Regions from separate parts of the Homo sapiens genome. Here regions 1, 2, 3, 4, 5 and 6 are each linked to region 7. Evidence: promoter capture Hi-C in 16 types of primary human blood cells and fetal thymus (Javierre and others, 2016). All regions are on one chromosome and are shown on one strand. The core of a region is centred on a gene start or on the middle of the fragment in contact, and the rest is flanking DNA. Distances in the headings are between cores, read along the strand shown. Region 1 overlaps WDR7 (WD repeat domain 7). Region 2 has its middle 2.7 kb from the start of WDR7. Region 3 overlaps TXNL1 (thioredoxin like 1). Region 4 overlaps WDR7 (WD repeat domain 7). Region 5 overlaps WDR7 (WD repeat domain 7). Region 6 overlaps TXNL1 (thioredoxin like 1). Region 7 holds the start of FECH (ferrochelatase).

What was found. Contacts are between HindIII fragments. The CHiCAGO score rates a contact against its expected background, and 5 or more counts as called.
Region 1: a fragment that was not itself captured here is called in contact with the fragment with the promoter of FECH in region 7 in 9 of 17 cell types (naive CD8 T cells, megakaryocytes, total CD4 T cells and 6 more); the score reaches 9.6 in naive CD8 T cells.
Region 2: a fragment that was not itself captured here is called in contact with the fragment with the promoter of FECH in region 7 in 6 of 17 cell types (naive CD8 T cells, naive CD4 T cells, fetal thymus and 3 more); the score reaches 9.9 in naive CD8 T cells.
Region 3: a fragment that was not itself captured here is called in contact with the fragment with the promoter of FECH in region 7 in 6 of 17 cell types (naive CD4 T cells, non-activated CD4 T cells, total CD8 T cells and 3 more); the score reaches 8.2 in naive CD4 T cells.
Region 4: a contact is called between a fragment that was not itself captured here and the fragment with the promoter of FECH in region 7, in 3 of 17 cell types (naive CD8 T cells, megakaryocytes and M1 macrophages). The highest score is 6.4, in naive CD8 T cells.
Region 5: a contact is called between a fragment that was not itself captured here and the fragment with the promoter of FECH in region 7, in 2 of 17 cell types (naive CD4 T cells and activated CD4 T cells). The highest score is 7.1, in naive CD4 T cells.
Region 6: a fragment that was not itself captured here is called in contact with the fragment with the promoter of FECH in region 7 in 1 of 17 cell types (naive CD8 T cells); the score reaches 6.1 in naive CD8 T cells.

The regions. Positions count from the first base shown.
Region 1 is chr18:56,700,950-56,704,871 of GRCh38, reverse strand. The region is part of intron 12 of WDR7 (WD repeat domain 7); the gene reads right to left. Among named protein-coding and RNA genes, the nearest start is that of WDR7, 52 kb to the right of the region's middle. The HindIII fragment of the contact is 2,236 bases long and covers 1,524-3,759 here.
Region 2 is chr18:56,646,822-56,650,435 of GRCh38, reverse strand. No RefSeq gene overlaps it. Among named protein-coding and RNA genes, the nearest start is that of WDR7, 2.7 kb to the left of the region's middle. The HindIII fragment of the contact is 3,586 bases long and covers 1-3,535 here.
Region 3 is chr18:56,627,075-56,630,558 of GRCh38, reverse strand. The region is part of intron 1 of TXNL1 (thioredoxin like 1); the gene reads left to right. Among named protein-coding and RNA genes, the nearest start is that of TXNL1, 9.8 kb to the left of the region's middle. The HindIII fragment of the contact is 7,386 bases long and covers 1-3,484 here.
Region 4 is chr18:56,682,436-56,685,926 of GRCh38, reverse strand. WDR7 (WD repeat domain 7) reads right to left here. Exons shown (of 28, transcript NM_015285.3): 5 at 3,074-3,248. Among named protein-coding and RNA genes, the nearest start is that of WDR7, 33 kb to the right of the region's middle. The HindIII fragment of the contact is 3,226 bases long and covers 456-3,491 here.
Region 5 is chr18:56,665,339-56,668,923 of GRCh38, reverse strand. The region is part of intron 1 of WDR7 (WD repeat domain 7); the gene reads right to left. Among named protein-coding and RNA genes, the nearest start is that of WDR7, 16 kb to the right of the region's middle. The HindIII fragment of the contact is 642 bases long and covers 1,611-2,252 here.
Region 6 is chr18:56,604,123-56,607,808 of GRCh38, reverse strand. The region is part of intron 7 of TXNL1 (thioredoxin like 1); the gene reads left to right. Among named protein-coding and RNA genes, the nearest start is that of TXNL1, 33 kb to the left of the region's middle. The HindIII fragment of the contact is 1,071 bases long and covers 1,097-2,167 here.
Region 7 is chr18:57,585,368-57,588,830 of GRCh38, reverse strand. It overlaps FECH (ferrochelatase), which reads left to right and starts at 2,129. Exons shown (of 11, transcript NM_000140.5): 1 at 2,129-2,277. The coding sequence starts at 2,211. RefSeq lists silencers at 1,948-2,307, 2,318-2,377, 2,388-2,437. The HindIII fragment of the contact is 11,690 bases long and covers 1-3,463 here.

The sequences.
Region 1 (3,922 bases), core at 1,392-3,891, 880 kb after region 7:
TCACTAGGTTTAGCATGAAATCACTTCTGACCATTATTAAAAGTAAATTTCATGCCTAATCAGCAATATGATTTAAGATTTTAAGGAATCTTTCCAAAATGTAAGAATTTCTAATTTTTTAAAATGTTTGGCATGATATCAGCACAGTCAGCTAAGGATGCAGTCTTTCTCATTACTGTTAAAGGGGCCTCTCACTGCCAGTCCCTTAGCACTGAGTTTTCTGGCCTCCTACACAAGAGACAGGTGTAAGACATTAAATTGCAGTTTTGCCATTAAAATAACAAAAATTACTTGCACAACCTAATATTTGAATGTATACATAATATTCATAGCATGACAGGGTCTCACTCTGTCACCTAGGCTGGAGTGTAATGGCGCAATCATGCCTCACTGCAGCCTTGAACTCCAGGGCTCAAGCAATCCTCTCACCTCAGCCTCCCAAGTAGCTAGAACTATATGCCCATGTCACCAAACCCAGCTTTTTTTTTTTCTTTTTTGATAGAGACAGGGTTTCACTATGTTGCCCAGGCTGGTCTTGAACTCCTGGCATCAAGTGATCCTCCCAGCTTGACCTCTCAAATTGTTGAAATTACAGGTGTAAGCCACCATGCTCAGCCTCAACTTTTTATCTTTAAACAATAGTATAGAATAGTAGTACAAATTTGGAAAACATAAAATTATCAAGAATATAAAACCAACCAGAATGTACAACTAATATAGTATTGGTAATATTAATACATTTGTGCTTTAAAATGAACGTGAGAGCTATAGTTACATATGCTCTACATACAGCTGCTTTCAAGACTAGAAAATTAGCAAGGCTTAAAAGATTATAAACAGGATGATGAAGGATTACGGTAGTAAAATGGTGACTGTACAAACCTATTCCTCATTGTTTGAAGAGCAATTTGACAATACCTGTTCAAAAGCCTTTAAAAATTAATATGCCCTTTTTTATAGCAACTCCAAGTATAAGAACTTATCCTAAGAAACCATTCTAGAGCTACAAAAATATTTAGCTGTACTAATTATCATTCCCACCGTTGATAACAGGCAAAAAAAAAAACTTTAAAGCAACATTCTAAAATGTCCAATAAAAATGAATTACAGAGTATCATTTAAAATGATGTTGTAGGAATATTCTTAGTGACAAATATGATGTCTTTAGAAAATATCTCTATTTTCTATAACTATGTATTATTTAATTTTTAAAAATAAAATTAATATCAAAAAGATGGTGCCAAATACATAAAAATATATGAAAATGTTCTCAAAATCAAAGAGAATTAAGTGTTAAAGGAAAAAGGATGACACAGAACATTATGTACATTGTATTTTAAGAAAATAATGTTAGTTCTGCTTCCTGTTTTTGCTTAGTTTGTATTCACAAAGTTTGCTCTGCTTGACTTCAGATATTAAGCTATAGGTATAGACATTGCTTTTTAAATGCAATATTCAAATTAAATTAATAACAAAAATCTAGAATCAAAAATGGGAGATAAGAGCAAATTCAGGCAAAAGCTTTCAGTACTTTGTCAGAATAATAGTATGATATATTAAAAAGAATATCTAATTTGTCAATTGCCCTTACTGGCTGTGAACATTAGCCACACTGGTATACACACAGTCACGTGTTCCATTCATATTAGCATACCTGTTTCTAGGAGCCGGGAATCTAATACTGGTTTTAATACTGTCAATTGAAGGCACAAACACTAGTGTTCAGGTTAGATGACGCACATTCCTGTTTTCACAAATCCATGCTGCCCCCTTCTGGGTATTTTTGGAGATTACGTGACCAAAAGTTTAATATGATAAATTAAACAAAAAGTATTCATTCTTTAACTAATATATTAAAGAACTTAGCCTATATGCTTACATGTAGAAACATATCACTGGTACTAAACAGTTTATTTTTCGGCATTTTCGAAAACTTCTGTTCTGAATAATTCTAACAACAGAAAGACAGCTCTGAGAATTTAATCGTCAATGTAAATGAGGAAAATAAATAGTAAATATTAAATAGCTATAATACTAAAAGTAAATAAAACATGACACTTTAATAAGTTTCCCTACTCCTTCCTCTCACTCTCAAAAGTAAACCAGGGTCTGAATTTGGCACTAGCTTTCCCTTCGGTTTTAATATTTTTACTACCTATACATGTATCCAAAAATATGCAGTATGGATTTGTGTTTTTAAAATGTAAATAAATGGTATCACACTGTATTACACACACAAAGGTTTCATACCACAAACTGTACTTCTAAATCCAGCTACCTACCACAATTGAAAATCAACTAAGAAAATATGGATAGTTTCATGTAAAATATCACCACAATTCAATAAGTTGGCAATATTATACTGGGTGATTAGTGTTATTTTTTAATTCATGAATTTTCACTGCTGTCAATCATATCTATCTGGTTTGTTAAGGAAAATGTTTTATAACGTACTCTTGATATATTAAAATAATTTTATTCCCTCAGTATTTTTTCCAAAACCTAGTTTCTTTCTCTAAGAGTAACCTATGTGGAAATACAAGAAAAAGTGCCTGGATCTTGGACAATAGACTCTTTAAAGCTAAAATCTATAATAAAAGGAGAACGATAAGCAACAGGGAAAGGTAAAATAAACTGGGAGGGAGGTGGAAGGGACGATGTCAGATCATCTCATCTGTAACTACATAATTCTAATGATGGAGCGTTGGAGGAAGTTTCCTGCCGCAGCACTCCAAAGGCATTAAAAATATCTGCCTTCCCTTTCACCAGCTCTCTTCAGATTCCCCAGGCAACTGGTACACTCTTGGCCTCCCCTATCCCAGAGTTCAGATTTTGCTAATTCACCCAAGTCTACCTCTCACAACTACTCCAATCTGAAAATCATTCTCTCTCTAACCACGCTGTGTTGTGTAAATTTTGTAGTTGTCAGAATAAAATTAAGCTAATATTCTATAGTTCTGAAGCATTAAAACACTGTAAAATTGAAAATATCTGAAGGATTAATAAGACATTGCACTCAAGGTTAAGGGAACCAAAAAGCTGGAGAACAGGAGAGAAAGGGAGACTTGCACTTCCTTAGTAATATTTATACCTTTTGCATTTTATACTATGTGCATCACTACCTATTTATGAAATATTTTAAGGTACCATAGTAAACAGTCCAAGTACAGATGAAAAGTTAATAGCCCAGTTTAAATTTTAGCTGTTTTTAAAAAAAAGTTTCTAATACATCTCCTATATCTAATATTTGAAGTGGCAATATAATTTAATAACAACATAAAAAGCTCGAGTTTAAATTTGAATCCTATTAAAATTCATAAGAACTGTCACATCTGAATAGCAATAAATCATGAGAAAACCACTCATTTAAAAATAATAAACATAACTTGGAATGATAAAAATGGTATAGGACTTTATATCTGTCATATAATTTTTATACTGTGAACAGCTTTATTTCAAGCAAATGATATATAGTAGTTTGTTTTATCAAGAAACTGAACCTTTATATACTCTTAAAAAAACAGAAATGGCAAATAACCTAATATTAGAAACCTCAAAACCACAGATTCCAACACCTCTCAAGAAGTCAATATGTAGTTAGTCAAACCTCTCAGGTCTTTTCAAGTAGTTTACCAAAGCTCCTTGTTTCTCTGGGTACCTATAATACGCCCTTGCCATCATCACCAAAACATTTGTGATTTATAGTCTGCCTGTACCAGGCTTAAATACTTACCTTATCCTCCTTCTAAAATGTAAGCTTATATTTCTTGGAACATTTAAACACATTACTTCCTCAACTGTTCTCAATAACCCTTCAGAACTACACAATCCTGAATTATTTCAAAATTTTATATCTTAAAGGGTACCTTCAGATTTTTTAATTTTCTTACATTTTAATTCTTTAAAATAATCCGTATCAGGT
Region 2 (3,614 bases), core at 493-2,992, 940 kb after region 7:
ATAAATAGTGTAGCACTTTTCCTAACCACATGGTATTCAGGTTTTTAAAATTGCTTTACAACAAATTATCACAGTCTTAGTGTCTTAGTGGCTTAAAGCAACACATATGTATTGCCTCACATTCCATGGGCAAGGAGGTCAGGAACAGGTTAGCTGAGTCCTGTGCTCATGCTCTCACAAGGCTACAAGTGGATGTCAGCCAAACTGCAATTCTCATCTGGAGGCTCAACTAGGGAAGAATCTGATTCCAAACTCCTGTCAGCTCATTCAGTTCCTTGTGGCTGTCTGACTAGGGGCCCTGGCTTCTTACTGGCTCTGAACTGGAAGTGGCCATCAGGTCCTAGCAGCCACCCACAGTTCCTTACCACATGGGCCTTACTAAAGGCTCTCTCGCAACATGGCAGCATACTCCTTCAAAGCTAGCAAGGAGAATCTCTCTACTGAGCACAAGAAAGGAGTCACACAGATATAGATACAGCCATGGATATGGACATGGACATAGATATGGAAATGGATGTAGATGATAACCTAAATTAGGGAGTGACAGCCATCACCTTTGCCATATATTATTGGTTAAAGTAAGTCACGGGTTTTATCTGTACTCAAGGAGAAAGGATTATACAAGAGTGTGACTTATCGGGGTCACTTAAGATGGGCCAGCCACAAATATTAATTTGGCAGCAATGTGCCATGTAAATCAGGTGGGAAATACAGGGAAGCAAGGAGACAAGTGAGATGTCGTCATTGTTGTTGTAACCAAAAATGTATGGTTATCACTGCAAAAGAATCATAAATGAGACCCACAGGATAAAATCGGGAATTTCACCATTTTAGAGGCATATATATATATATTTTTTGAGATGGAGTCTTGCCCTGTCACCCAGGCTGGAGTACAATGGCACCATCTCAGCTCACTGCAACATCCACCTCCTGGGTTCACGCAATCCTCCTTCCTCGGCCTCCCGAGTAGCTGGGATTGCAGGTGCACACCATCACACCTGGCTAATTTTTTTTATTTTTAGTAGAGATGGGGTTTCACTCTATTGGCCAGACTGGTCCCGAACTCCTGGCCTCAAGATTGGCCTGTCTCGGCCTCCCAAAGTGTTGGGATTACAGGCGTGAGCCACCACACCCAGCTTTAGTGGCATTTTTAAAACTTAAGTACTACTCTGTCCTTAAAATTTAGTAGCAGGCTGGGCACAGTGGCTCACGCCTGTAATCCCAGCACTTTAGGAGGCCGAGGCAGGCAGATCGCAAGGTTGGGGGTTTGAGAATTTAGTAGCAAATTACCCTACAGCACACCAGTACCTTCTGGACTTCTTAAGCTCCAGGTTAGCTCTGCAAAAGGCAAGGAGGCTTGTTCTTCCATTTTACAAATTTCAAAAGAGGGAGATAGCCCAGTGGCCTAACAGTGACTTTATTGCTACTGTTATTTTCGGATCACTTCATGCATGCTGTTATTTTTTTCTCATCGAGGTTTTCAGTCGTAGTTTGGTATTCCCCATGGTGCCTAGTACTCAGCTAATACTCCCCTTTCCTTCCTGGACCCTCTCCCAGAAAAGTCCTATCATGGTCGATGGCTTTATTTTAATACCAAATGGCAAAGAGGCTTAATAAGGGTTTTTTGCATGATTTTTGTGTAATTAAAACTGTTTTGTGCAATTAAGAGATTCCTTTTGCACTTTCTCACATGACATAAAAGTCAAGTGTTGATACTTCTCTTTTTTTCCTGTCTCATGACTTCCATGATTCAAACCATTTCTTTCCAAGTAACAAAATGTCTTTTTCTAGAAACATCTCTAGTTACTCCATACTCAGGCCTTTTAGGAAGGAGTGAAGGTGATAAGGTTTAGGGTGTTAAGCCTCCTCACAAATGAGGGTTTCACAGCCCCCCTCACCAAACCAGCAAGACTAGCAAGGGAAAATTAGAATAGATAATGAAGGAGGAGCTGATAAGTCCTAGTGGTAGCCCTGGTCACCAACTGCAGCAACAGGGCTGTAGATCGTCTACTAACCTCCCTCTTCTAGGTTTCCCATAAGGAAGAGAGGGTGACCAGAAACCTGGAGGAGTTGCTCCCCAAACCTGTGTAGAGAAGGGAACTCATTTTTGTGTAAATAGTGGACTATGGGAGACACATGAAGCACCACCCAGATTCCCCTTCAAGAAAGAACCACTTCCTAGCTGCAAGGAGAGTGGTTTGCTCACACTCTTGCTGTTAGCTTCTTCAGGGTCACCTGGGCTTTCCAGCTGAGATCACACTAATCTTGAGGCAGCCTCTGATGAATGACTGAGCAGGGTGAGGAAAGTCCAGGGCACATTCTTCTTGGGGAGGCCCCTGTTCTAGGGGGTGGTATCAAGGCATAGGAATTTCTGCTCCCATGGGGGACTCCTTTAACAGGCAATCTTTGTACTAGAGCTTCCTCTTGGGTTAGTAGAGACTTTGTCAGATCTGCTTTTTCCCTTCCTCGGCCCAATCCTGCTTCCTCCCTTTTCCTCTCACAGATGTGAGAGAAATAAACCTTTTGGACTCCTCACTCCATCTCAGCATCAGCTTCCCAGAGAACCCAGCCTGCACCATGACACCATTTTTAACAATTGACAATCAGGAGCTGTCATTGTACTTTTGCAACTTTTCCCTCAGTTTTTTTTTTTTCCGTATAAAAAGTTGGAAAAAAAGAAACAAAGATTAAACTGATTTTTACTGATTTTTAATAAAAGAGAGACATCAGACTTATCAACCCATGCAATGCATGTGTCTTATTTTGATATTGATTCAAGTAAGCTATAAAATAAATTAGGAGAAAAATGGGAAATTTTAACCGAGTGGATATTTAATGATATTAAAGAAGCCTTGTTAACATATTAGAATGTAATAATGATATTTCGGTTATGTCTTTAGAGGATTCCTCATCTTCCAGATGTGCAGGCTGAAATATTTATGGATGAAATTGTCAGATGCCTAGCATTTGCTCCATGATAATCTGAGGTAAGGAAGACAGTGGCAATAGCTACCTTAACTTTACTTCCATCTTCATGAAATAGTACATTCTTTTACTTCTAATTCTAATTCATCAAGGTGAAAAACATCACTTATTCACCATCCAGTGGTTTTAGGCACTATGCTGAGCTACACATACAGAAAATGCAGAGACTTGGTTCTTGTGGTCAAGTTACTCAGTCTGGCAGGGAGGCAGGGAGACAGGCAGACCCACTACTGTGAGGAGTGATGTACCTGGTGCTTTCCACCAGTTGCCATGGGGCTGATCCTCCTACTGACCTTGTAATACTAATGTTCTGAATTTTGATGGGAAATATTGTTTTTAACATTGTGTGAAAAGCCACTTCCTTATTGTACAGAAACCACTAACATACATTTGACTTTTATTGGATTTCTTCAGTATCTGGCCCTCAGATGTACTCAGATATTCAGATATCTGCTACTTAAGAATGGACTGAATGATGAGCGTGTGTATGTGTTACGTGTGTGTTTGCTCAAGGGCATGCCTGAGAGAGGGCTTTGAATAAAGTGAAGCTTCTGTTAAGAGTTTTATCAGCTGGACATAGTGGCTCATCTCTGTAATCCCAGCATTTTTGGAGGCCGAGGTGGGTGGAT
Region 3 (3,484 bases), core at 541-3,040, 960 kb after region 7:
AAAATAGAAATAAAACCTTCATCTGGAAGCAGAAAGCTCTCAGCCACACAGGCAAATTCCCTCTCTTGTTTATTTTAAGAAAGTTAATGAAGTTAAATAAGAGTGCCTACACCTAGCGTTTGTTCCCCAGAAGGGTTTATTTTCAGTGTTGCATTTTCTCCTGTCCCTTCCTTAATGGCAGCCCCACTGGCTCAGAGCTCCACTTCAGTCTGCTTTGTCACAACACCTGTAAGCATCATTTCCAGTTGATTTTGTTCTTTTCAAATATTCCCCAAGGTCGCTTCCAGCTCTGAGCCACATGCTGGGATGTCCATCTTTTTCCTGAATCCTAGTTACTGTCTTTTTTTTTTTTTTTCTTTTCCAAGTTGGAGTCTTGCTCTGTTGCCCAGGCTGGAGTGCACGATCTTGGTGACCTTGGCTTAACTACAACCTTCCGGGTTCAAGTGATTCTCCTTCCTCAGCCTCCCGAATAGCTGGGACTATAGGCATCCGCTATCACGCCTGGCTAATTTTTGTACTTTTAGTCGAGATGGGGTTTCACCTTGTTGGCCAGGCTGGTCTTGAACTCCCACCCTAAAGTGATCCACCTGCCTTGGCCTCCCAAAGTGCTGAGATTACAGGCATGAGCCATCATCGGGCCCAGTCTGGTTACTATCTTTCTTACTGATCTTGTTACAAAATTGCATGGGTTTCAAGTAGTTTGCCAACAAACTTATTTTTCCCATAAATTCTCTCTTTTTGGTGTGTGTTTTTGCAGGAGGGTGGTTTTCATGAATGGATATATTGTACTATAGAATGGATACCTCTGTAATTTGTGACACCTGTGTAAATGCAGTTAACACTAAATTCTTCTCAACTCATTTAATATTTTAAAATGAAAATACCTATTCATCACAAAAAAGCAAAGGATGCAGAATTATGGATACTAACTGTTCATTGTGCCTGTCTCTGTCTTTTTACCCCCTATGCATTTATATATATACATAGGTTTGAAATGTGATCCTAGAGAACATTTTATAATGAGACTTTCTTCCCCCCTAAACACTGCAAAGTATCAGGCTGGGGTGCAGTGGTGTGATCTTGGCTCACCGCAACCTCCGCTTCCCGGGTGCAAGTGATTCTCCTGCTTCAGCCTTCTGAGTAGCTGGGATTACAGGCATGCGCCACCATGCCTGGCTAATTTTTGTATTTTTAGTAGAGATGGGGTTTCACCATGTTGGCCTGGCTGATCTAGAACTCCTGGACTCAAGTGATCCGCCCATCTTGGCCTCCCAAAGTGCTGGGATTATAGGCGTGAGCCAGCGTGCCTGGCCCCTGTCATAACTTTTTAAACTAGTTTTCCATTAATTGCCATTTAAGTTGTTTTCTAACTTTACTATTACAAACATGTTACATTGAACTTCCTTATACTACATGTTATTGTGAAATAGAGTAAGTGTTGTTAAAATGGAATAGACTTTCAAAAGGGCAATTATTGGGTCTTGGCTTGTGTTCATCTAAAATGAATAGATATGACCCAATCAGTGGCCTTTGAAAAACAGTGTAGTGATATATATTCCCATTTATAAAGTTTAAGACTAATTTTAGTTGACTGTAAATATTATTTTCTTAGATTTTTGGTGTATGGCTTTCAGGATAACACAAGGTGAAATGCTGATTGAAATGTTAAGAATGTGGAGTTGATCACAACTTGAGTTTTAACATTTGTTTTTATTTTGTGCATTAGATTTGCTTTTTCTTGCATTTCTTATTTCTGCAAACTTTTATTGAGACATACATGGCACACAATTAGAAATGTATAGTTCAATTAATTTTCACAAACTGAACACACCTATTTAATCAGCTTCCAGACAAACAAAACATTGCTAGCCTCCAGAAGTCTTATTCTATCAGTAACTCACTAAGGTAACCATTGTCTTGATTTCTGATACCATTGATTGGTTTTGTCTGTATTTGAACTGTATGTAGTCATATAGTATATGCTAGTAGTTGCTTTCTTTCCTCAATGTTATTTGTGAGGTTCATCCATGTTTTTGCAAGAGGTTTTATACCAGTTATTTTCATTATTGTGTAGTATTTCATTGTATAACTATAATTAGCTTACCCATTCTTTTGTTGATAAGAATTTAATTGTTTCTGATTTTTGACTCTTAGAACTATTACTAATAATACTTTTTCAAATGTTCTAAGGTGAACATGTGTCTTAGATGTATTCCCCAGGAATTTTGATGGGTTGGTGTATTTTAGCAGTTTGGTTTTTTTCCCTCCAAAATGGTTAATACCAGCTTGCACTCTCACAGTATATAAAAGTTTAGTTGCTCTGCATTCTTGACAATACTTAATTCTTCTTGTAGCTATTTTTGCTGAGTTGGTTTTAATCTGCATTTCCCGGGTATCCCTGATGACTAATGAAGTAGAACATCTTTCCTGCTTTATAGAAAGTTTTTGACTTTATTTATTGACTGTTTGGATAATCTCATTTGTCAAGTACCTATTCAAGGGTTCATTCTTTTTCTTTTGGGTTTCAGTCTTCTCCTTGTTTTGTAGGAGTTCTTTACGTATTAGAAGTATAAGTCCTTTGTTTGATATGTTTTGCAAATACTTTTTCCTAGTCTCTTAAAGACATTTTTTGATGAATAAAAGGTTTTAATCTTCCAGTTTATCAAATATAGTCCAGTCTGTCAAACCTTTTTTTTTTTTTAGTACTTCTTGTGTTTTGTATAAGAAATCATTGCTTAGTTTGAGGTTTTGAAAGTGTCTTCCTGTATTTTTTCCTAAAACCCTCCTTGTTTCACCTTTTACATTTAGATCTACAACCCATCTGGAATTGGTTTTTGTGTATGGTGTGTTGAGATTCATTTCTTTTCCTGTATGAGTATATAGTTGATCTAGCAGTATTTATTGAAAAGACCATCCTTTTCCCACTGCAATGCTACATCAAGTTTTTCAGACATCAGAGTACTGTATGTGAGATGGGTCTGTTTCTAGACTCTTCTTTCAAAGGAAAACTGATTTGATCATTTTGCTTATTCTTGTACAAGTACTATATTCTCTTAATAAAGGTTTATGATAGTTCTTAAGATCTGATAATATAATTTTTTCAGATTAGAACCTCAAAACGACTTGGGCTGTCCTTGGCATTTCTCTATAATTTTTAGAATGGAAATTTGTTAATTTCTACAAGAAAACCTGCTGAGATCTTACATCAGTTGTAAAGATCAAATTGAGTAAAATTGGTATCTTGGCAATATTGAGTTTCAAATTCATAAGCAGAGTAAATTCCTCCATTTATTTAGGTTTTCTTTAATTTCTCTCAGTGAGAACAAAGCTAGAAGACTTAACACTATTAGTTATGAAGACTAAATGTAACATCTGGGCTCATTAAGACAGTATAGTATTGATACAAGTATATGTAAATAACTTACTCAAATAGACCAGAGAATCAGGCCTAGGGTTATGGTTCATGCCTGTAATGTCTGCACTT
Region 4 (3,491 bases), core at 819-3,318, 900 kb after region 7:
CAGGTTACGAACATAATACGCTTTTTCTAAATATTAAGATGTTTTGCTTGAATAAAATTAAACAATAGCATGTTTTACAATTAGCAGAAAAACATAATTCTCTATTTCATGAAACAGAAACCAGGTTTTGAAACACAAGTTAATAAAGATGGCCAACAACTTAAAATTCAAGGAAAATTATTTCTAGCTAATTGAATTTTTTATTTCTAATCAAGAAGTTTTTAATAATTTCAAATGTTCTTGATTACTATGTTAACAATGAACTTATACACTTCAAAATTTACAACTTCTAATTCTTTATCATGGATGAGCTCAAGCACTTCATTTCTTCAAGGCACAAATTTCTCCCCCTTTCCCACATACCTTGCCACCTTCCAGATACTTCATTGCACATTACACCCTCCCCAGAGTGTGATCAAGAGAAAGATATGATATAAAATCTAAGTTCCTAAGCTTCAGGTAAGGGACTAGTGACAGCACCAGGGTCACGTACAGGAATTTTGAGAGGATGAGCATTGGAAAGCAGTCAACGTAGGCTCCAGAGTGAAGGAGGGGAATGTTAAAAGCAAAATCACATTTTTCTTCACTAATTAACCAATGAACTTTAGATAACAAACTATCTTAAATACAATTTTCTTATCTGGAAGCAAATATAAATGAATAACAACAGTACCTATCCTAATGGGTTGTTATAAAAATTAAGACACGCCAAGGGAAAACATTCAGCACATACTAAATTCTCAATAAAGTTGAGTTATTACTGTTATTTAAAAAATTGTTATCTTTAAATAAAAACCTTATCAATATCACATAGTTCTCTAGGCACTGTAAGGCATTGAAATTAATTGATTTAAGTTACAGTCTATTCTGTTCAGACTACAGTGTAAACATATATAAAAGGAGTATAAAAATTTTAAATAGGCAAACCGCTTGGTCACAAATACAGATCTGTTTTAAATAAAAGATTCATTGTAACTAATATTAGAGATAAATATATGAATGATTAGTTCCCTATTGCCTGGAAAATTAACGCAAATCTCATTCTCACTGTTATGCTTAGGAATAAAGCAGTAATTCTCTAATATGCATAAAAAACCTCTCTGAGAAGGTTCACATTAGAGAAGCCTGCTGAATTTTATTTTACCAAACATCTCCCAAATATATTTAACCAGAGATCCCACCTTTTTGACAAATACCTATTAACAAACTTCAGAACCAACACTCTGAAGAACAGCGGCAGGAAATGAAGCCAGTGCATCCACTATTCCGACAGTCCACTTTAGTGCAGGCCTGCACCACTCTCAGCTGGGCAACTAATCTCTTAATTTCCTCCCATCTTTGAAGTTTAAAGCATAAGTCCCTTCAGAGACTGCCCATCATCTACAGTGAGAGCCTGCAAGCTACAGCTCATGAGTCAACTCCAGCCCACTGGCTGTTTTTGTAAATAAAGTTTTATCGCAACACAGCCAGGCTCAATCACTAATGTATTGTCTGCGGCTGTTTTTGTGCTAAAACAGCAGAGTTGAGTAGTTGAAACATGGACCATATGGCCTGCAGAGCCTAAAATATTTCATATCTGGCCCTTTACAGTATAAGTTTGACAACCCCTGATCCACAAAGTGAATTCCCTAGCTGATACACAGGGCTTTCAAGACCTGTCTCCTGCCAGCTCTGCCAGCCTTATATCCTGCCACTCCTTCCCTCATACTTCTTGTCCCAGAAAAAGATAATCTATAGTTTCACATATACACCTATCATAATTTTAATGCTTTTGTACCTACAGACTATCTCCTTTGCCAGAAACATCCTGATCGCAGGTCTGCTAAACTCTTTCTCATCTTCCAAATCCTAGATCAGACTTCATCTGATCTGGACAGCCCTCTACTGCCCTCAATCAGCCTCACTGCCATCCTCTCCATACTATTTTTCCATCTTGCACACTTTGCACTCTAAACTGTTATTTGTTTATATATCATTGTCCTTTACTAGAATTTGACTCCCTTAAGTATTAATATTTCAATCCCTTGCACCTGGAAGACTGTAGGCATTCGATAAATATTTGCTGAATGACTACTGAATAAAAAGCTATGTGCTGATTTTCCTACCCTAAGAGGTTACAAAGCAAAAGCTCCTATAAAGTTGAAGGCAATTCACTAATGGGAGGGAAGCAGTGTAACACAGTGGTTAAAGTAACTACTCCGGGGTCCTTTAGCAAAGATGGCATCACACTAACTCTCATCATTCTCCTCATCTATATGATGAATATTAACAGTACCTACCCCACTAAGTATTGTGAGAATTGATCATATGTAAATGCTTAGCATGGTGCTTGGTAGTGTAAACACACAGTAAATGAAAGTCCTCATGGTGATGGTGCTGCTGATACCGGTGGTAGTGGTGGTGGTTATTTACTGGCCTCTATAGGAAGCACATAACTATGAAGCCATTTGAAAGTAAAAGAATGCTCCTTAAAAGGCTTATAAAAGTAGACATTCAATGTTCTGCATTAACTATTACTCTTTTCCTGACAACTTTACTTTTGCTTTTATGGTTGTTATTAAGAGGTTTCAACAAAAATGAAGAAAAGATAATAATATTTATTGAGCATCAAGTACATATCAGCCCCTTCCAGGAACTTTCATTAAATTTAACTGTGTATAATCTCTCCTTTTTCACTGTCCCCATTTGAAATGGAAACATTCCCTATGCCTCTTAAGCAAGTGACAGAACCAGGCCCCAGAAATATACAGGTAAAACTACAGCTCTTCCCAAAGGTAAAACTACACCCCCAAAGGTTAAGCTATTCTTCCTCCACTTCAGATAATCACCCATATACTCTGTCAAAAGCTGATGATCTATACATCATGGAATGGAGATAAGCCAACAATTAAGTCTTCATTCAATCAAAGATTTCTTTATGAAGGAAGAAACAGACCATAAATTATTGGTGTAGTTATTTCTTACATAGAAGAATATATCCCAAAGTATTAATTTATGATAAATTGTAGAATGTTCTAGTAAACTAAACATTAAGTCATGGTGCTAAAGCTCCTAACAGGCATAATACACTGACCTTGTGTTCGGTGGGATCGAATAATACTCATGGAGCTAATCCAGTCTGGTGATATCTTTGATACTAAGGAGTATAATACTTCAAGGCTGGTAGCATCCACAACAAGGATTTCAGGGTAATGTCCGTGGCATAAAAGCCTTCCTTCTCGCTGATTCCCAACAGAGAACTGGTAGAACTACATTCATGCCAAAAGGAAAAAAGATTTCTGAGTGTTCTCCTTTAATTTAGATACTTGATTAATATGCATTCATCAAGGTTATTACAATATTCTCCTAAAGCTCAACTTCTTCGGTAAGAATTTTAGATATTTACCAAATGGTACATATTATATGGGTGTATGTGCACACACATATATTAAGTTATATTAAAATTTTTAAATAGCTAACAAAAATTATTTTCCTAACATCTTATCCTCCCT
Region 5 (3,585 bases), core at 682-3,181, 920 kb after region 7:
AAATATTATTTAAAAAAAAAAAAAACACAGATTTTGCTACTTCTTCACATTCTGCTTACACATCTACAGGCTTTTTCCAGTACTTAATATTCAATAAGGTTGGACTTTCCAACAGGTTAATACCTTTCATTGACTTTCTGCCAAAGTATAAAAGTATTACTGTGTATGCTTGTCAAACAACTCAAATTGTGCAATTGTGCAATGCAAATATAACAATTTAGTTCTGCATTACTTTATTAGAAATAATACTACCAACTTCCATCCCAAAACTAAAATGGCTTTCAAATAAAATTCCAAACTCCTAATAATTAGTATACATTTTAGAGCAGCATTTCTCAGGTTTCTAGTTCATGCCAATGCCATGGTAGGTATAAGTATTACAATAATAAATAAAATAGACACAATTCAGCTATCCAGTGGGGCTTACATACATGTAAACAATTACCACAGAGCATGAGAGAAGTCTCAAGACATATGGAAACACAAAAGATGGATTCCCTAACCTAGACTTCAATGGGTCCAGGAAGGATTCCTAGAAGAAATGATGACTAGAATGAGTAGGAATTAACCGGAATAGGCTCAGGTAATCACATGTTCTAAGGGCCAGAGGTGTAATCTCAATTCTTTCTAAACAGTAAATAGTAGGGCTGACATTTAAAGTAAAAAGGCAGAATGGTGAAAAAACAACCAATAGCCAACATGCATCAGATCACAAGGGGCTTCTTGGTAAGACATTTTCAAGAGTTTGGACTTTAATTTGACAGCAAAGGGAAGCAGGTAAAGTGCTTTAAATCTGACATTGCTTTTCAGAAAGATCACTCAAGCTGTGATATAACAGAGAGGGATAAAACTGAGGACCTGAAGACCAATGAGGCTACTGGAGTTCTGCAGAAGAGAAATGGTGGTGCTTAAATTTATCACAATCTCTTATTACTTATTTCTGGGGCGTCTCTGTTAATGGCTGTCTCCACCACCACTCTTTCAAGCTCCCTGGTTACAAGATGCACACTCTGTGTACTCACTACCAAATGATGCTTAGCACAACATCTACCACATAGGACATCTTTAATAAATATATGGTGAAGGGTGTTCATGGTGAGAATAGTACTAATAATAATACTGATATGAGAGCTAAAGATATAATAGATAAGACTTGATTTTCAACACACCAAGGTGATCAGGATGCAACATGGATTCTGATGCAAGTTTCACACAAAGGTACTTTGAGGATAAAAGAAAAGAAAAAGCAGTTTTAAATACTGAAAGCTTTCTAAGTAAAGGATGGGCATTATTATTACAATACTGATGCCTAGGGAAGTATCGACAATTTAGATTCCATCATGGAAGATAAATTACTCTATGCTTAACCATAATTTATTAACTCTAGGTTTGGGGATGAGAGAAAATACAAGGTTCCACACTGATCTTCAGTTGGGCCACATTGTAAAGATACTTAATGGTCCAATAAGCAGATATCTACATAGAGAAGCAACATGCTCAAACTTTTTGAGATAGTATGAGGGTTGGATTACCACAGAGAAACAACTAAAGACAGATAAACCAAATATGATGCTACTGCAAAAAGCCTGGGTGCTAAGTGAGAAGAAGCTTAGCTAAAGTTAGAGTACTGAAAGAAAAATAGGAGACATTACAGAGGAAGAACAATAAGTCATGGGGTTTGGCGAAATACGTAAGGCCACAGGCAAGAAGACTATTGCTTTCCAAACTGGGTGGTAAGGAAAGAGGTAGGAGGGAAGCATAGTGAGGCAGAGGAAGGAAAGAGAGTGCAATGACGCTAAAGAGGAATCTGGTCTCTAAAAAATTGTAACTCAGAAAGTATTTTCATAAAATGATACCAGAGACCTCAACAAAACTGTTCTGAATGGTAAAAAAGCAATGAGCTTTTGCCAAACCAAGTCATTTCAAAAGTTTATGAAATAACGCTCTGTCTCCTGCTGTTTTGCTTTTATTTTTTATATTTAAGCATTTAAAAAAGAAACGCTTTTGTAATTGACAAAAAAAAAAAAAAATAGCCTGGTTTCCCAATCCAGAATGGAGAGTATAGCTGGTTACCATCCAGGGGATTTTTTATTTGGGTGGATATTTAGGTCTGTTAGCAACTCTCTCAAGATCACACATCAAACTGATCTCAGAGCTCAAAAGCAAACACAGATCTCCAGGGTCCTAATGCAACACTTTTCACTCTCCTATATTGTCTTCATTTACCACAAAATTCCATTTATCAGAAAGCTTCATTATCCAGGCATTCTGGTTAATCAAGATTTTGCCAAAACACAGTACTCATTAAAAGATAAATGGAACTGCAGTGTTTACAGATAAAATCATATGATGTCTGTGATCAGTGGCTCCTGGGAGAGGAAAGAGAATATGGGCTAAGTGGTGTTAGAAGGAATGAAGATGAGGCCGGGCGCAGTGGCTCATGCCTGTAATCCCAGCACTTTGGGAGGCCAAAGTGGGTGGATCACCTGAGGTTGGGAGTTTGAGACCAGCCTGACCAAATGGAGAAACCCCGTCTCTACTAAAAATAAAAAATTAGCTGGGCATGGTGGCGCATGCCTGTAATCCCAGCTACTAGAAAGGCTAAGGCAGGAGAATCGCTTGAACCCGGGAGACGGAGGTTGCAGTGAGCCAAGATTGTGCCGTTGCACTCCAGCCTGGGCAACAAGAGTGAAACTGCGGCTCAAAAAAAAAAAAAAAAAAAGACGAAGGAATGAAGATGAAATAGTATCCTAAGTATGATGGATGCTATGTGCCCAAATCTTCCTTCAGGAAGGAAGGACCCAACTGGTGAGAGAGCTCCCAGCAGACAAGCCCAGGTTGTCAGCACCACTAAGGATTGCCTCAGCCCAAGAGAGATGGCTTGTCCAAGCTCTTGTACCCTTCCCATGGGACAGCCCACATCCAGTGACGGATCAATATGGAAATATAAAGGCCAGACCCCCTCACAAATCAGGATATCACTGAAGGGTCATCCCATCTTCAGAACTTCCCCCAGGGTCAACTGAGACTCCTCTGAGACTCATCACGACTCAACTTTAACCCAGGGCCAAACTATTTCCTTTCCCTGGGTGTTGATCCCAAGAGCACTCCCTAATAAGCCTGAGTCTCCATCTCAGAGTCCGCTCACCAGGGAACTCAAACTGTGAAAGTAAGTATCGAAGCTCTTTTTAGTGCAAGAGTGTGCATTATACTGTTCTTTCTACTTTTATATATTTGAAAATGTCTATAATTTTTAAAGGGTACCTGGAAAGAACTTCAATGTCCACAAATCAGGGATTAAATAAATTATGATAGAGCTTTATAATGGAACACTGCAGTATGAGATATAAAACAAACACCAAAATATACAGTGGGTACACACACACTTTGAATAATTCTGAAATGATAACGTACAAAAAAAATCAGTAATATGACTGCCTTTTAAGAGGAAGACTAGGAAGAGGAGACTGGGCTGAGTAGAATTCCTAATTCTCAAGATAAATTCTTGGGTTTTTTGTTTGTTTGTTTGTTTTTGCCCCATCATTGTGTTTTCCATTATAATACAGTTAAATAAAGTGGCCTAGA
Region 6 (3,686 bases), core at 383-2,882, 980 kb after region 7:
TCTCAGCTCACTGCAACCTCTGCCTCCCGGGTTCAAGTGATTCTCCTGCCTCAGCCTTCCAAGTAGCTAGGATTACAGGCGCCTGCCACCATACCCGGCTAATTTTTGTATTTTTAGTAGAGATGGGGTTTCACCATGTTGGCCAGGCTGGTCTCAAACTCCTGACCTCACTGCCTTCCTTGGTCTTCCAAAGTACTGGGATTAGAGGCATGAGCCACCGTGCCTGGTCTTTACAATGGGTTTAATCGGGATATATTACCCCATCGGAAGTCGAGGAGCATCTGTACATATATACATACCGCTGATAATGTTTAATGTATAAATTAGGCACAGTAAGAGATTTAACAACAAAGCCAGAGCATGGTGGCTCATGCCTATAATCCCATCACTTCCGGAGGCCAAGGCTAGAAGATCACTTAAACCCAGGAGTTCAGGACCAGCTGGCAAACATAGTAAGACTCCATCTCTATTTAAAAAAAAAAAAAAATTACCCATGCAAGACGGTGGGTGCACCTGTAGTCCCAGCTACTTGGGAGGCTGAGGTGGGAAGATCACTTGAGCCCAGGAGTTCAAGACCAGCCTGATAAACATAGTAAGATTCCATCTCTATAAGAATACACACACACACACACACACACACACACACAAAATTACCCAGGCAAGGTGGTGGGCACACCTGTAGTTCTAGCTACCTGGGAGGCTGAGGTGGGAAGATCGCTTGAACCCTGGAGTTCAAGGCTGCAGCGAGCTAGGATCACGCCACTACACTCCAGCCTGGGTGACAGAGCAAGACCCCATATCAAAAAGAAAGAAAAATAAAAAAGATTAACACCAACTAATAATAAAATAGAGCAATTACAACAATATACTGTGGTTAAAAGTTGACATGGATATGGTCTCTCCCATGCTTGCTCTTTCTCTCACTGTCTCAAAATATCTTATTGTACTGCACCATAGGCAGTTGAAACTGCAGAAAGTGAAAGCATGGATAAGGAGGGACTACTCTTCAGTCATGATCTCTGTCTACAGCAGTTTATATTCTTGTAGATAACATAGGGACAAACATAGGGAAAGTTAATCAAAATTAATCAAAGCTTAGTTCAAGGGTTTCTTTGTCCACAGAGTATTCTCAGACGTTACCAGCTAGGTGACTTTTCCTTTTCCCCCAACGACTGGGAAAGTCTGAGAATACTTTGTGAAGAAAGAGGGCCTTGAACTAAGTTTTGAGAGTAGAATTTGGACAGTTCAACAGGCAGCTATGGGCACCCTTGATAGAATGGAAAAGTAGGGACCTGGACATGAACTTAGGAAGGTGGAGGATTCAATCGTTCAAGGACAAGTCACATGTGGCATGTCTTTTCTTTTACTTGTTTGCTCAGTCTGAATTAGTATATACATAGTAATTAGAATTGAAATTTTTTTCTTTTTTTTTGAGACGGAGTCTTGCTCTGTTGTCCAGGCTGGAGTGCAGTGGTGTGATCTCGGCTCACTGCAAGCTCTGCCTCCCGAGTTTACCACATTCTCCTGCCTCAGCCTCTGTAGCAGCTGGGACTACAGGTGCCCGCCGCTACGCCTGGCTAATTTTTTTGTATATTTAGTAGAGACGGGGTTTCACCGTGTTAGCCAGGATGGTCTCGATCTCCTGACCTCGTTGATCCGCCCGCCTGGGCCTCCCAAAGTGCTGGGATTACAGGCGTGAGCCACCATGCCTGGCCTAGAATTGAAAATTTTGAAATAGATTTGGCATATATTTTATAGGCACAGGGAGGAAAATTTTGATGACCTCTGTGTAGTGAAGGGCGCTATATAAAATGGCTTAATGAATAATAAAGTAGATCAAATGTTTAGCATTTTCAGTTTATATTTTTATCTTGTGTGAGCTGTTTCTGGATAATTTCCGTTTTTAGTATGTCACTGACTTCTTATGTCACTAAGATATCTGACAGAAGCTAAGGTAATGCTGTTGAATCTCCAATGTGGACAGAAATCTTAGACAACCTTTCATGCTATTACAACTTTGAAGGTTAGACTTTTAAGGTTTGACAGACTAGAATACCCCTTCCACTTGTCTGGTTTTGGCTCTTATAGGCATCACGCACAGATTATAATCTATACTTTGGCTGTTTGTTGTTGTCAATGGATTTTTTGTGTTGCAGCATGAAAAGCTTGCCATTGCCATCTTAATTGGAAGTAGATGTTTTTGCTAAAATATGCTCTTTATATGGATTGCTTTATTTTAATACAGAATTTTTAATTACAATTTTATAAAAATACAAAAATGAGAAAATTATAGGGGCTTCTGCTTCTTAGGAAATGAGGTGCATGTGAAAAGATTTTTATCACTATAATAAAAATAGACTTTTCTAAACTGGCCATTCACCGTATCAGCTATTTTTGTAACATTTCTGTCTGTTTATTTTTCAGCTTTTTTAATCCAACTCAAATGAACTAAAAACAGAAGATATTTTAAAATGAAGTAATATAAAGATTGACCTTGTCTCACTCTACTCCCCTCCTTGCTTCTCTGCTCATCTAGCACCTGTCTGCTCTCACCCTTCCCATGTTCTCGCCATTGTTGGTGCAAGATTTCTACAGCTTCTATCATCTGGATCAGCCTTGTTACCTAGGTTTCCTCAATCATCTCTTTCTTCAGATCTCATCCTAGTTGTGTTTCTTAATTGGCCTTTTATTTTGTTTTGGCTTTTGTTTTGGGCTTGCAACTAGGTGCTTTAATTTTTTACCATACCGTGTTGCTCACTAGCCTTTTTTTTTTTTTACTTTCTACTGTTTCATATTTAATTTTGTATTACATTTTGAGGCATAACATCACAATAAAATTAAATTGTTATAAAATGTTTTAGATTTAACTAGTTGAATAGTTTTAATCCATTCTAAACTTTAAATTTTATTTCCTAGGAACTATAGAATTCTTTTGGAAAACAAATATAGCAGTTGCATCAAGTTCTTTTATGTTTGTGCTAGTTTAATATATTGATTACATTTCAGTTGAGGGGTGTTGGTTTTCTTTTCCTCGTTGGAATGTTAGCCCCAAAGTCCTTTTGATGATTGATTGGGGCATGTCCTCTGCTTTTGCCCAAGTGAGCTCAAAACCAGTTGAAGGACTTATGGACTGAATATTAGGTTGGGTTAACATATTAATATAGAAGATCAATGGACTCTTTACTGAATAAATATTTTTTACACCTAATTTTTATGTACCTAAATTTTGGTTTGTCTGAGGTGTAATATAAAGACTTAAGAATGAATAAAAGAGCTTTACGTTTGGGATGACAATCCATGTTGGAATGTTGAATTTCTTCTTTTTTACAGAAAATACACATTGGCAAGTTGAGAGTTATCAACCTGTGAAACAGTATGCAGATTTGTGTCTTCTGTATCACATCTGCTAGAAGTTTAATTTTTAATATTTGTTTTTGTTTTCTTTTGCTTAATCTAATAGCTTTGTGTTTTGTGTTTCCCAAGTAATACAATGATCAATAATGCTCTCAGTGTTTATCAGCACAAAATTTACTTGTGATAGAGATAATGCCAGTTCCCCTTCTAGTGGCTCTTAAAACCTGAATTTCTTACTCTTATCCACATTCTTTTATATGAAACTGCCTTTTTATCATCTTGCTACCTTGTGAGCTTTCTAACATGGTGTCTTTGGACCAAAGGGGAGTTCT
Region 7 (3,463 bases), core at 880-3,379:
GGAGGTTGCAGTGAGCCGAGATCGTGCCATTGCACTCCAGCCTGGGCAACAGGGTGAGACTCCCTCTAAAAAAAAAAAAAACAAAAAAAATTAATTAATTAATGAAAAAATAAAAAATAAAAAAAGAAGTCAGTAAAAATGAAAGTGCAAGATGCGAATAAAAGAAATGAAATGATGCTGATTCATTAAAATATTTAATAAAGTATGTCTTGCTAGTTCCATAATCATTTCTGGACAGAAATTTAACCCACGCCAGCCATTGATTTTGTACTGGTGAGACTTGGCACCTTTATGCCTTGTCACTAATCATCAGCGTTTGCCTGGGAGGGACCAGAAGCCCCCTTATCTCTACCCAGCAGGAGGGCCCAGCACCCTGGATGGAGGGGATGACTTTCTCCAGGGCCTCCCAGAGGGGACAAGAAGAGCCTTCATAGCTCAGACGTCTAACCCCCCCGGCCATTTTATTCTCTGGCCTTGTCTACATGTCTGCCAGCACAGCATTGCGAGGTGTGCAGCCTTTCAATTTAGTTTCTTTAGAAGAAATGGGCTCAGGCCGCGCATGGTGACTCACGCCTGTAATCCCAGCACTTTGGGAGGCCGAGGTGGGTGGACCACTTGAGGTCAGAAGTTCGAGACCAGTCTGGCCAACATGGCAAAACTCTGTATCTACTGGAAATACAAAACAAACAAATAACAACAACAACAACAAAAATGGGTTCAGACTGTAGGTAGAGAAGTATGTTATCCATGAAGATCACCTCTTTACAGGGCAACTTAAGAAGACTATAATTTTTTTATGAGGGTAGAGAATAGCCACACATATAAGGAAGGTGGGTTGATACCTGGAGCAGGTTTTACTGTGCTTTTCTCAGGACATCCGCTTGGATATGAAGATCATGTAGGTAATATGAAAGGCTATCCATTTAATTTGACATTTTGCATTGGGCTTATAACCATCAGGAGGACCAACTTTAATAAGAAATAAACTAATTCCATCAGTAGCACATATTTAAGCTACAGAAAACTGGGTTTCAGCTGAATCTAGACTCCATCTTCCCTGAATGTTCCATATGGCTTGCCCCCTTTGCTCAAATGTGTATAAGGCCTTTGCTCGAATGTGTGAGACTCTGACCCACCTGCTTCAAATTGCATTAGTCCCTTCCCCCACCCTACCCCATCTCTTTTACCTTGCTTCATTCTTCTTTTGTCCTGAGAGGGAAAAAGAAGAGGGGAGGCCGTGGAAGGGCTCCATCATTCAAAGTATTACATGTTGTGATTATTTTCTGTGTCTCCCCTAACCCCATGTAAGCCCCCGTCTACTCTTTTCACTACTGTTTTCCCAGTGCACATAGTAGGTGCTCAATATTTGTTCAATGAATACCGATGCCTGAGACCTTTCTGTACCAAGGGCTGGTTTCCTACTCCACAATGCACTGAACATATATAGGCAGGGTGGGCTGACGGAGGTGTAGGAATGAAATGGGCGCCTGTTCCTCCCAGTGATCTCAGTGTGCGACCTTGGGGGCGGGACGGGCGGCTAAACTGGGAAGGTGCGCGGATATGATACAGACAAACCTCATCATACCGTCCCTCCAAGAAATGCACTTGCCAGGCTGGCCTTCACTTTTCCTAATGCTCTTCAGTGAGTTTCACCTGTCAAATTCTGCTACACAGAGAGGGTGCAGAGAAACTGAATAATCCCTTTTTCTATTCTGAAAATAAAGCAAAACAAAACAGGATCTGCACACTTGTGTTGTGACTAGGCAGGCAAACTGGAGAACTGAGGCAAAAGCATCCTTATATCTAAATAATAGTAATGGAAACGTCGAAAAAAGTTATTTGCTGAGTCATGGCTGAGGATCCTGACTTCGCTAGTTTGGCAGATGCAAACAGGGCACGCAACTAGGAGTCCAGCAGGTTTTGCAGTGACCTGCGATGGTGGTGGGGAGCGGGCTTCTAGCTCAGCCCCCGGGCCCATTTTCACGCAGGGAGCGGCGCCCAGCTGGGGCGGGCTCTCCGCGAGGGGCGTGTCTCTGCCTGGCCTCGCCCGCCCCGGCCCGGCAGCGAATGAGCGGGCGCGCCGGGAGGGCGCGAGGTCAGGGGGCTGGGGACGCGCGTGGGGATCGCTACCCGGCTCGGCCACTGCTGGGCGGACACCTGGGCGCGCCGCCGCGGGAGGAGCCCGGACTCGGGCCGAGGCTGCCCAGGCAATGCGTTCACTCGGCGCAAACATGGCTGCGGCCCTGCGCGCCGCGGGCGTCCTGCTCCGCGATCCGCGTAAGTGGGTCTGTCGCGGCGGCCGCCAGGGCCAGGATCCCTGAGAAGGCGTGGGCAGAGCGGGCAGCTGGCGCCCGGGCCCTCGCGCCCGGGGGATTCGGGGAGCGGCCTTGGGGGTGCTGCGAGCAACCGGGCGAGGGGCGTCGCGGAGAAGGGAGGGCTGAGGGCAGCACTCAGGGCTCGGGAGGCCGCGGGGAGGGCGCCCGGATCCAGGAGGCGCAGGTTCAAGTCCCATCGGTCGGCTGGGTGGCTTGGAGCAGTGGCTGGAATTTCCCAGAGCCTTGGTTATTGTCACCTGCAATAACCAGGCTGTTGAGAAGATTACGCGAGGGAAGGTATGTTATGGGCCTGCCATAGAGGATAGTAAGGAAGGCATCTTCATCATCACCACCATGGACATCTGCCCTGCAGTTCCCTCCCTGCTGAGGAAAGCCCATGGTCCTTGGTCCCTCTGTGCCCACTTCTCCTTAGCAGCGGGACCCCCCGTGGGGCAGCCTGGGCTAGCGTTTTCTAGAGATATCTGGGGAACTTGTAAGACCCAGGAACAGCCTCCCACGTTTCTGATGCAAACCGTGAATAGGTTGTGACCACAGGATGAGCTGATGGGACTGTGGATCTCACACACCTGGCTGGGACAGCATTTCCAACTGTGACACCTTGAACAAGGCACCTAACCTCGCCAGAGCTTTGGTAAATGTACATTGAAATCCTAATTTTTTTTTTAAGGCTTGCCTTGAACATGAGCACCTTGCCTGGCACACAGTAGTACACAGGCATCCTCAAGATGTCTAGCCATTCATGCAGAAGGCTGCCACGAATAAGATGCTTATTCAATGCATCCGAACGGTGACTGGACACAGACCGGACATATTTTTCTAAGACGTTCGTCAGTCTGACACCTACTTGGAGTGGAGGGAATCCCCTCTGAACCTCCATATCTCATTAGACGTGCCTTTGTTAGGAAAATACTAAGGACCCAGTGTACAATGAGGCTAGCTCACTAAGGGCGCTGGGGGACAAAGGGCATTGTTTTTTAAGAAGAGGCAGCACAGTGCCAGTCGTGGGGCTGAAAGAAGTATTGAACTAATCTTTTCTTTCACTGACCTTTCCTGTGGCAAATAAAGTCTGACAGGTCCTAGATTTGAGGTCGTGGAACAATATGTGAAACTTTAAATTATTTGTAGTC